2 separate regions of the Homo sapiens genome follow, and region 2 is linked to region 1. The links are contacts of gene promoters, found by promoter capture Hi-C in human tissues and cell types (Jung and others, 2019). All regions are on one chromosome and are shown on one strand. The core of a region is centred on a gene start or on the middle of the fragment in contact, and the rest is flanking DNA. Distances in the headings are between cores, read along the strand shown.

What was found. Contacts are between HindIII fragments. The study calls those that stand out against the background at their distance.
Region 2: a contact is called between a fragment that was not itself captured here and the fragment with the promoter of KRTAP13-4 in region 1, in 2 of the 25 tissues and cell types used here (stomach and thymus).

What each region holds. Positions count from the first base shown.
Region 1 is chr21:30,426,989-30,432,324 of GRCh38, forward strand. It overlaps KRTAP13-4 (keratin associated protein 13-4), which reads left to right and starts at 3,232. Exons shown (of 1, transcript NM_181600.3): 1 at 3,232-4,038. The coding sequence starts at 3,288. The coding sequence ends at 3,770. All of the region lies in intron 3 of LOC105372772 (a long non-coding RNA gene), which reads right to left. The HindIII fragment of the contact is 9,351 bases long and covers 1-5,336 here.
Region 2 is chr21:30,220,142-30,225,496 of GRCh38, forward strand. No RefSeq gene overlaps it. Among named protein-coding and RNA genes, the nearest start is that of CLDN8, 6.7 kb to the left of the region's middle. The HindIII fragment of the contact is 8,230 bases long and covers 1-5,355 here.

The DNA.
Region 1 (5,336 bases), core at 1,982-4,481:
GGTCTCAAGCACTTCTTTCTCTTTCTCCTTCACTTGGGCCAGACCTATGTCCAAATCTTACAACTCTCCCAGCCTCTCTCAGGGGAGACTCTGGAAAGAGAAAAAATGCAGAAAATCTGTAAATATTTAATCTTGTTTATACTTTTTAAAAAGTGATACTGTTTGGATTTGTGTCCCTGCCCAAATCTCAGGCCAAATTGTAATCCCCAGTGTTGGGGAAGGCCTGGTGGGAGATGATTGGATCATGGGGGTGGATTTCCCCCTTGCTGTTCTCGTGCTAGTGAGTTAGCTCTCATGAGATCTGGTTGTTTAAAAATGTGTAGCACTTCCCCCTTCACTCTTTCTACTGCTTCCCTTGTAGGACTGCCTGCTTCTCCTTCATTTTCTGCCATGATTGTAAGTTCCCTGAAGCCTCCCCAGCCGTGCTTCGTGTACAGCCTGCAGAACTGTGAGTCAATTAAACCTCTTCTCTTTATAAATTACCCAGTCACAGGTAGTAGTTTATAGCAGTGTGAGAATAGACTAATACAAAAAGTAAACCAATTTTTTGAAGGATAGCAAAAAATTTAAACTGAACATTTTATCTTGAGTATGCCAATCAGGGTAAACAAAAAAAAAATTATTTCAGTTGTTCAATGATTTAGAGAAACAATAAACAAACTTTTGAGTTTAGTTTTGGAGCTTATGTTCAGACTGTCTCCAGGTAATATCTGCTAAAACTCATTTTTTCAGCCATCTCCACCTTAGTTAGACTAGATCTACACCATTCTCCTATTATTTCACGTGTGAGTTGATGTCTTTTATCAAGATTGGTAAATTCCCAACTGTACTCTCTTCAAATATTGCTTCTGCCCCATCCTCTCATCTTTCTTTTGCTTAGATTCCAATTATAAGCAAGGTACACTTTTTAACTACATTACATATGGCTTATACTCTTTTTTCTATTTTCAATCTTTATATAGAAGTATTGGCTTTTGCTTATTGAGGTTGTAACCTGGATGGTTAGTGAAAGCAAGATTTTCCAGCATGTTAGTGACAAGTTGCCTGGTTATTTTGAAAAGAGAAGCAGGTAGGTGCCAAACGTTGTAATTTTCAACTATGGATGAGATTCTGTTGAAAACATATCTCAAATATCCAAAGCCATTATTCATAGCCCAGTGAAGAGAATCATCTGTCAAAAGATCAGAAGCCTTTTGATGTATATCCCTGAGCCATATATTTTATGTGAAAGATCTCAATTTTTAATTGTTGATAAATAATTCAGTCAAAAAAAGAAACAACAATGATGAGGCTCCATATTAAACAGAACAAATAATATGATCTCCAAGATGAAGTGAGTCCAAAGTTGTGGCATTTACAAGTTCTTCTTAAACTTCTATCAAATTAATGTGGACAAAGTTTTAGAGATTTAGAGGCAGAGAGAAGGGAAGAACACCTCTTTTCACAATAACTGGTTCAGAGAAGGATTTTTGAATAAGGAGCCTGGATTAACTGAAGACAAATTCACTAAATCCCTTAGTTTTGCCTGAATAAATTCATGCTCTCCATTTAACTCATAAGTTTTGTATTCAAGATTATTTTAAAGAGTTACATTTGAAACAAAAGAAAATGGGGAAGGAATAGTTTCCAAACCTACTTACTAAGGTACAAGGTTAGGGGAAATCAACTGCCATTGAAAAATAGAAAGTAACTCACTGAATAGATATTTGAATTGGCCATATTTGCTTCTTTCTTCATTCTTCCTTCTGGAAGGCCTATATTAAGTTACTTTTCAATATTGCCATACATTTTAATTGAGAAAATTTAATCGAGAAAATGTCTAACATTATTGTTGTAAGTTTATTATATTTTATTATAAAATAAAATGTCATCAACCATGACAGTACACTTTCTTTGGTCCTGAATATAATTTAACTACTTGTATTTCAACATAGAATATTTTGTGAATGAACTTACAAAGTGGCTATCCTCAAAGAATACGACAAAGCTGTCCAATTTTTATTTTTCAACATGGAATCTATAATTCAGCAGAGGCAAACAAACACATGAACAAAACATAAAATATAACAAGTAAAAAAAAGAAAAAAGATAAAATCAAACTTAAGCACAGAAAAAAGAAAGAAAAATAGAGGGAAAGAAAGTCAGAGGAAGAGAGAGAGAAAATAAGAGAGAAACATTCATATACCATGCAGAGGAAAAGAGGACTGGGGAACAAAGAAACTTCACATTTTCACAGGAAAATGTAGGATGGTACCTGGTTCTACAAGTGGCAAAAAGACACTGAAAGCCAGTAATATGGAAAGCTAGAGCCATTCTAAGAAGGTAGAAGTCCTGTATAATTACAAAAGTAGATGATAAATATATCAAAGTTCATAAGATTTGCTAATTTTGAAAATTTTTGCTCATAAAGACATTGAGACAAGACACATGACAGCTGGAATGCAATAGGAAAAAAAATTCTGAAATTCCTGAGCTTTCTCTTTGTTTCTCTTTCACTTGTTTCCTCCCTTCAGCAGACAAGCATTCGGGCTCTTTGGCTGAAGAGACATGACCTCAAATTGATCTTCTCTGTGACTGTGTTTCAATCGAGCTTCTTTTTGTTATCTCGTCTTTAAATAAATGGCAAGGTTTCTTTCAATTTCTAGCCATTTCTTTCTATCTCTTTGCTTTGCCTGTTCTTGATCTTTCTTCACTGGATATGAGACAGACTTTATAACTGTAGTACTTAATGTATTAATTTACTCTTACCGCCCTAAAAAATCACCACAAAGTAATTTTGGAGTATAGCAATCAATGGTGACAAGATGGATCATTTTCACAAAGGTTCTCATCCAGGTGGAAATTGCACCAGAAAGAAACTAACGTTATCTCATTCCCCACTCTTAAGAGGAAAACATCTACTAGCAAAGCCAGATGTGAATACACAGGAAAAGAGGCAGTTAGCATGTGCCAAAGAAATAGGAAGAGCTTTCCTTGTCATGATGAGCTAGACATTAATATAAAACAGTCATAGCATTTCTGACATAAGTACAGTTCATTGGCTTTGTGCTATAACACGAAAATTATAGCACCCATAAATACAATACATGGAAAACTATTCAAATGCAATTACAGACAAGATTACGCAGTTACACATATGTAAATGAGGGATCACAAATATGTAAAGGATGACCCTGTTGGGCACCACACCTATTGCTGAGAGGATATAAATGCCCTTGTCCAGGATGCGACATTAAAACTCAGAATCTTCTTAGGTACACTCAGCTGAACTCCCATCTCTCATCAGCATGTCCTACAACTGCTGCTCTAGAAACTTCTCCTCCCGCTCCTTTGGGGGCTACCTGTACTACCCAGGCTCCTACCCCAGCAGCCTGGTCTACAGCACTGCCCTCTGCTCTCCCAGCACCTGCCAGCTGCGTTCCTCTCTCTACAGGGACTGTCAGAAGACCTGCTGGGAGCCCGCCAGCTGCCAGAAATCCTGCTACCGCCCCAGGACCTCCATCCTCTGCTGTCCCTGTCAGACGACTTGCTCTGGATCTCTAGGCTTTCGGTCCAGCAGCTGTCGCTCCCAGGGCTATGGATCTAGGTGCTGCTACTCGCTGGGAAATGGATCCAGTGGCTTCAGATTCCTGAAATATGGAGGCTGTGGTTTTCCTTCCCTGAGTTACGGATCCAGATTCTGCTACCCAAACTACTTGGCTTCTGGAGCCTGGCAGTCTTCTTGTTACAGACCAATCTGTGGATCTCGCTTCTATCAATTCACCTGCTAAATTTCTAGATCCTTTTGAGTATTGGGATCAAAGTCTCTACTGAATGCAGCCATTATTTTCATTCTTGCCAGATCCCAATATCTTTTTATTCTTCCACCACCAGCTTCTTGCATGACCAACTTCTGGCAGACTGCGAAATTAATGAGTAACCTAATATTAACTTCTAATATCTTTACCATTGATCGAATATATGCTATCTGATTTTCATCCAAAAACTGTTGAAAATGGAAATTTTAATCTAATAAATGTATGTAATCTGGTACCCAAATATATTGTTCACATTGTTATTATTTTATTATTATTATTTTGCTTACATTTTTGCATTCAAGAATTTGGGAGATTTAAGTAAAAATCAATATGACTGTGTAACTGGATTTGGGGCCCATATAATCTGACAGATCTGAGAACATTTCTCTTGAAATTAGGTATGTTGTCTATTAAGAGTAATCATTTCTGGAAGAACATAGTTTGCATCTGCAGACTTGTCTCAACAGCAGTGAGAATTGTCTAAGAATGAAGGACATGCATTTCTACTGATATAGGAAAGCAGAAAATTTGATGCATAAACTAGAAATGCAGACAACAAGACTAGGATGTAATTTATAAGGTAAACTGTATGCTTGCACTAAAGGTTACTTAAAGTCTAGTATCTGAATGTGGATTTTCAACCAAGAGAAAAGTGAAGCTTAAGCACTGCTAGGACAGACGCTTTGCTCTTTGTTAGTAGACTTAAGTGCCAGGTTTCCTGCCTCCCACTGGTAAGGAGAGTCAGGATCATTCACCAATGATCTTAAGTGGGAATTATTGGGTCCAGGAGGCTTCGGTAACCTACCGATGCTTCTTCAAGGCTCAACCTTAATCAAGCTGACAGCAACACACCTGAGCCATGCTGAACAAGCATTTATATCCATTAGTCTTACTCTGGATCCTCCTCTTCTCCCCAGAACAAGGCTAATGTCAAAGATTTGGGTGCAAACAGTTTATGTGGCACAAGATCCCAGGAAGCAAGTATGAGACACTATGGAAGATGAAAGAATCAAAGAGGAAAATCTAAAGAAAGGGTGCATTTTCGAGTTTATTTTATGGAGAGCAACTTGGCTAAATCTTGTAAGGACCTTTTAGGAGCATGTAGAATGACTCTTGGAATTGTCCCCCACAGGATCAGATCAACATGGAAAAACATTTATCCATCCGCTTCTTTCTCCCATTGGCTGAACAATATCCAAGATGTGTAATTTTCAGGAACCTTATAATTATGCAAGGAAAGAATCACAGTGGGCACCTTCTGTTTTCCTAGTTGTGACCTGGAAGAAACCCAGGTACAGTAAAAGTGGCGTTGCATATGACTGAGGGCAGATGTTGTCCACACAAAGGTGGTTGAAGCCAACATAAAATGGTTTGCATTGCTATGCTTGTGGTCATAGGTGAGTGTATACCACACAAGAAGGCAAAAGAGTTATCAGGTAACAGATTTTCCCTTAATACTTAACATCCCTGTGAGAAAGACAAATACTGTATACTATAGACCTTTACAGGCATGGGGGAATGGAAACTCTAAAAGGATTT
Region 2 (5,355 bases), core at 219-2,718, 210 kb before region 1:
TTTATTTCTCATTCTTCTGAAGTCCCAGATCAGGGTGCCAGTGTCACTGGGTTCCGGTGAGGACCCACTTCTCAGTTTATAGAAAGCTGTCTTTATGAGATGACTTCACATAGCAGGGAGAAAGTGTGAGCTCCAGTCTCATTCTCTTCTTATAAAGACACTAATACCGTCATGAAGATTTCACTTTCATGACCTCCTCTACAACTCTCAAAGTTTCACTCTCAAAGACCTCACTTCCAAATCCCATCACATTGGGGGTTAACATTTCAACATATGAATTTAGTGGGTACACAAATATCCGGTCTGTAACATCTAGCTACTAACAAATTCAAGCAATAAAATTTGCATAATTCTGAAGGGTCTACTGGTGCTTAAGAACTTCACCCATATTATATCACCCATATCAATATTTCATTTTTCCAAGATGAAAAAAGAATGGTGAACATGAATTAAAAAATCAATAATAGAAATAGTGTCATGGACATGTTTTTACCTTTCTTTCGCTTTTCATTGCATTAAAAAAATTAAAACCTAAGTATAGGATGAATTCTGATATATTTTGAAAGACAGGTCTGTGTATTTCATGTGATATATTTGATGTCTCTACTAAAGTACTGGAAATCCAGGGAGATAACTGAAAAAAGCAAAACTGTATACTGTGGAAATTTTCCTATAAATTAATGAGTAATTTATATATGGAGAATTGATGATGTGAAATACCCTAATTCTAATGATTTCAGGAAAAATTTTAAAAAAGAAAGAATTTGCTGGTAATAGCAGCTACTGAGTATTAAATGTTCTCTATACAATACATTCTTTTTATCACTCTACTTTATACTTAAAACATTTTTAGAAAGCAGGGGTCATTACTCTCCTTTTATAATTGAATAAATTAAAACTCAAGAGAGACTGCCTTTTTTAAGGCCACACAGACTTTGCTGGTTGAATCTACAGAAATGGAATTCAGAAGCAGACCTAAAGCCCACATTCTTTTCTGTATTGCCTACCATCTCCTTAAAGAGAACTAGGGAAACAGAATTTCTTACATTGGCATATATGGTCAGAGTTAATTAAGATATAAAATATGTTCAAAACATTTTTCGTCCTTGCTTAGCACATTGTTGTAAAAATTTTGCATGGCCAACCTTCGCAATTTTTAAAACATACCTGCTTCACTGAAATTTGAAATCTACCTCTTTAGATACTCTATTCAAAGGAGTTTCTACTGGGGAAATATTGGCAATTTCAATAAAATTATTCCTTGTTTAGAATTTGAGAGAGTTCCCTGTGCTGAAGGTACCAGTGGCACCCCTTTTTCCTTCACTTCCCATGCTTGTCCCCATCTTCGTGATTCCTTAATTACAGACTAGGTCGTGATACTGAATGACCTAACCACCACTGAACAAGTATTTGGCTAAAGTAAGCATTAAACTATTTCAATGCAATGAAAGTGAACAGTTACATGTGTCTGTGCCCTCAGCTAATTATAATACAGAGAAACTTTCCTTTGTATTTTATAGGGACTTCTTAGTGACCAACAGAGGAATGATTCTATGGTTACCTTCATTAGTCCATTAAAATTGCTTTTTCAGGTGACTCACTAACAACTTTTCTTTTTACCTTTTCCAAACGCTAAAATTAAAAAAAAAAAAACATTTTTAAGTTGTATAAAACTGTTTTCCACATGGTTATTTTTGGAATTGCTTGAAAAACAAATTTTTTAAAAAAATCCCTTAATCTCCCATAATAATCCTTTCTACTGAAATGTAAAGCATATGAAGCATTGAATGAGGAGAACAAACGGTCCATGACAAAAGTTTCTGGCCAGGCAGAGACTGTAATTAGTACTAAAAATGATAACATCAGATAATGAACAGGACCAAAACAGAGCACTTTTCATAATTTTATTTTGAATCCACAGCAATTCACAAGTTTAAGTCATGTTAATTATAAAAAGGAAGAGAAGAGAAAAGGCACATAGGATAATAGATAATATATTTAATATGACTATGCTTAAAATAATATATTTTAATAAATATTACTTAATCCTAGTCATAAGAACTACTTAATAATTACTAAGTTATATGAACAATTAAGATTAAGTGATATCATATTAGTTAACCATATGATTTCAGCCTCCCAACGCCCTTATTAGAAAAGCCCTTTATTATGTCAGTTTTACTAGGAAACTGGAATTTACAAAGTTTAAATAACTGACCCAAATCCTCACAACAAACTGGTAAAAAAAGCCAATATGGGAACTCTATTCTGTCAAACACCTGAGGCTACACTCTTGACCCACTATGTGCTACAAGTCATTATAGACCTACCTGTAAACCTAATTGAAAGCTTGTGTCAATGTGTAGTTTTATCTCTTATAAAGCATATAAGTTTTGGTAGATCAGAAGGAGTTCTCTGAAACAATGTCCTTCACATTGTGAATTTTCAATAGGATTTTGAGCATTATAAGGAGAAATGAAGTGTTTCCATTTTCTGCAGCAACATGCATTGTTTAATATGAGAAATCATAAGATATGAGGGAAATCATAAGATATAAGGGAAAAGTCCACACAAATGGAAAACACATACAAGGGTGCACACACACACACATACACACACACACAAAATGTCCTTATAAGCAAACAATGAATATAGGAGCACAAGAAACAATTTCCCTTGTAAAGTTGAAGTTAACAGGACAGGGAACAGGACAGGGAAAAGTAATTAACTGGGCAAATAGAGCTAAGCCACATTACTGATTAATTTGCAAAACAATTAACTTTCCACTTAAAATTCAAATTAAGATTCTGTCTGCCTTAGGCAACCAGTGTTTGCAAATTTTAATAGGGCTAGACATTAAGTGCCTTACTTAAAACCAACTTTACATGGCACTGGGTGAGAATATTATTGGAACAAGCAGCTCATGGCATTCTTGGGTTTCAGTTATTTTTTTAAGAGAAAATATTACAATCTATAATAATATGCTGGATGCACTAAAATTTTTTCAATGAGAATATGAGTAAAACTAAAAGTTATTCAACTCCTCATCTCAAATATTTATAGAGATTTTGTACTTTCTGTAAAATTTTCAAGACGATGTCTCATAAAACATCTTCTGAACACTTATTTTCCAACCGTTCAACAAGTATACTATGTACCAGGCCCTGTGATAGACTCTGGAAACCAAGAAATATGAGGCATAGTTTCTTTTCTTTGTAATTTTACATCCACAAAACTGAGGGGCTAGTGGAAGAAAGAACTGCTGAGTCAATTAACTCTGTCATTGGTTAAACTTGTTAACCAACTATTCTTTTCAACTTGAAAAAGCATACAAGTAGCCACACAGACAGGTGAGAACAGCCACCCTTCACTCCATTGAAAAAAAAGCAGCTTCCAGGGTTTTGATGTTTTCTAAACAAGATCAAACAATCAATGAAAAGCAATGCCAGGAGTCTATAAACATTCAGCAGAGGTAAGCTGGCTGTCTCACATTTTCACACACCTTTCTGGTTCATGCAGCTCCTATTTCTTGTTCTTATCTTTCTTTTTCTCTGACCTACGTTCCAGATATCTTTAGAGTTGCTGCTATGGGGAGCTGTATGTGATTATCTGACTGGCTTCTGGGCATCTTTTTCATAGTTTTAACTGGACTTTTGATGTCTCACACTGGACAACAACATTCTATTTCATTCTTATGTCACCAAACTGGTTGGTCCCAGCCCACATGGCCTCCTTCCTGGTCACGAGCTTGGAACAGGGAAACACAAGTTACTTTTGTACATGGCAACAGGAGAGAATATTAGACTCAAAACAGATCTAAAAGAACATCTGATGTGCACTTCATTCTGTACATGAGGGGCTCAAAAGCTCCAGGAAGTCAGGAACCACCTCTGTTCTATTCATCTTCGTGTCAAAGTAAAGTACTTGTGTAGTGCCTGGCACATAGAGAGCACTCAGTATTTATCTAATACCACGCAAATCACGCTGAAATCTCTGTGCCCAGTTCTTGATATTTGCTTGGTAACTCGGAAACTATGACACCGTAGACAAGTAAACTGCCTATTGCTTATTTATGTATTTGTCTTTTTAAAAATCTCCTAAAATAGAATATAAATATCATGAGCCACATGATTTTGTCTTGCTCATAAATGTATTTCCAACTACTAAAACATCACCTGGTTCATAGTAAGAGCTCAGGAAATATTCCATAAATAAAAGAAGAATGTTAGTTAAGAAAAATAACCTATGTACCCAGTATTGTAAAAAAAAAAAAAAAAACTCTCCTATATATAAGTTATATAATATTTTCAGTTTATTTTTTCAGGTCGATGCTTAAGCAGAGAAGAGCCTAAAATAAAACTCACCTTTGGCTGTATCAGCCCATCACTATGCCTCTGAATATGCCTTCTTAAGAGGTAAACTTATGTCCCAGTGGGTTCATGAATTTTACTTCAGCTTTCTTTAAGTTTCCTAAGTATGCCCTGTGAACTGACCTTCATTTTCTCATTTATTCTATCTCATTTCTCTCTTCTCAGTATGCAAATCCCATTTTTCCAATGCTTGCTATTATTAATCCAATATCCTTCCAATTACCATGGCAAATATTGATGGACTAAGAGCCTAGGCTACCATTTTTGTTTAATATATAATTTTACTATACCAAGGAATCATTAATTATAATTATTTTTCTCTAAGTATATTAACACAAATACAGACAAATACAATATAGAATAATACATAACTAATAAAAATTAATACACATATACTTTTAAATTTTAGAAAGAACTTACATGTATATTTTATGCAAATAACTTATATGTATGTTTTATGCACTTTCTCATTGAAGTAAGATTTATTTTGCTGTTACTTTTTAGGAGATGTTTGATATCCTAGGGAATTTTAGTGTTTTTTTGACCATCGCTAAATTGGAATTCTTATTAGTTAATGATGTTGCTAGGAATGGAATTTCATTTGGAAGAAGCATTAAGCTACTTAAATAGCAATCTCAACTGTATCAGCCTACCTTTCTCAATTTGCCTTGTGATTTAATGTAAACTCGGAAAAGGGAGAGAACTTCGACTACAAGTAAGTGAATGGTAAGTTCATCAGCTAGCCATTATTGGTGGCTTCTTTGGCTTCCAAAGAAGAAGTTAACTTAAGTATAAACCTTGAATCTGTGACTTAATGTGGAAATAATTAGAAATTTGCATGGATTACCATTGTTCCTGTGTTTCCCTTACTTTTCAATCAAATATTGTTTCAAATTTCATGCTAGCTTGAATAACTATTTTTATAATAAGCAAAACAGAAAAAGCTAACTTAAATATATGTTTATTATATCAAATTTTTGATAAT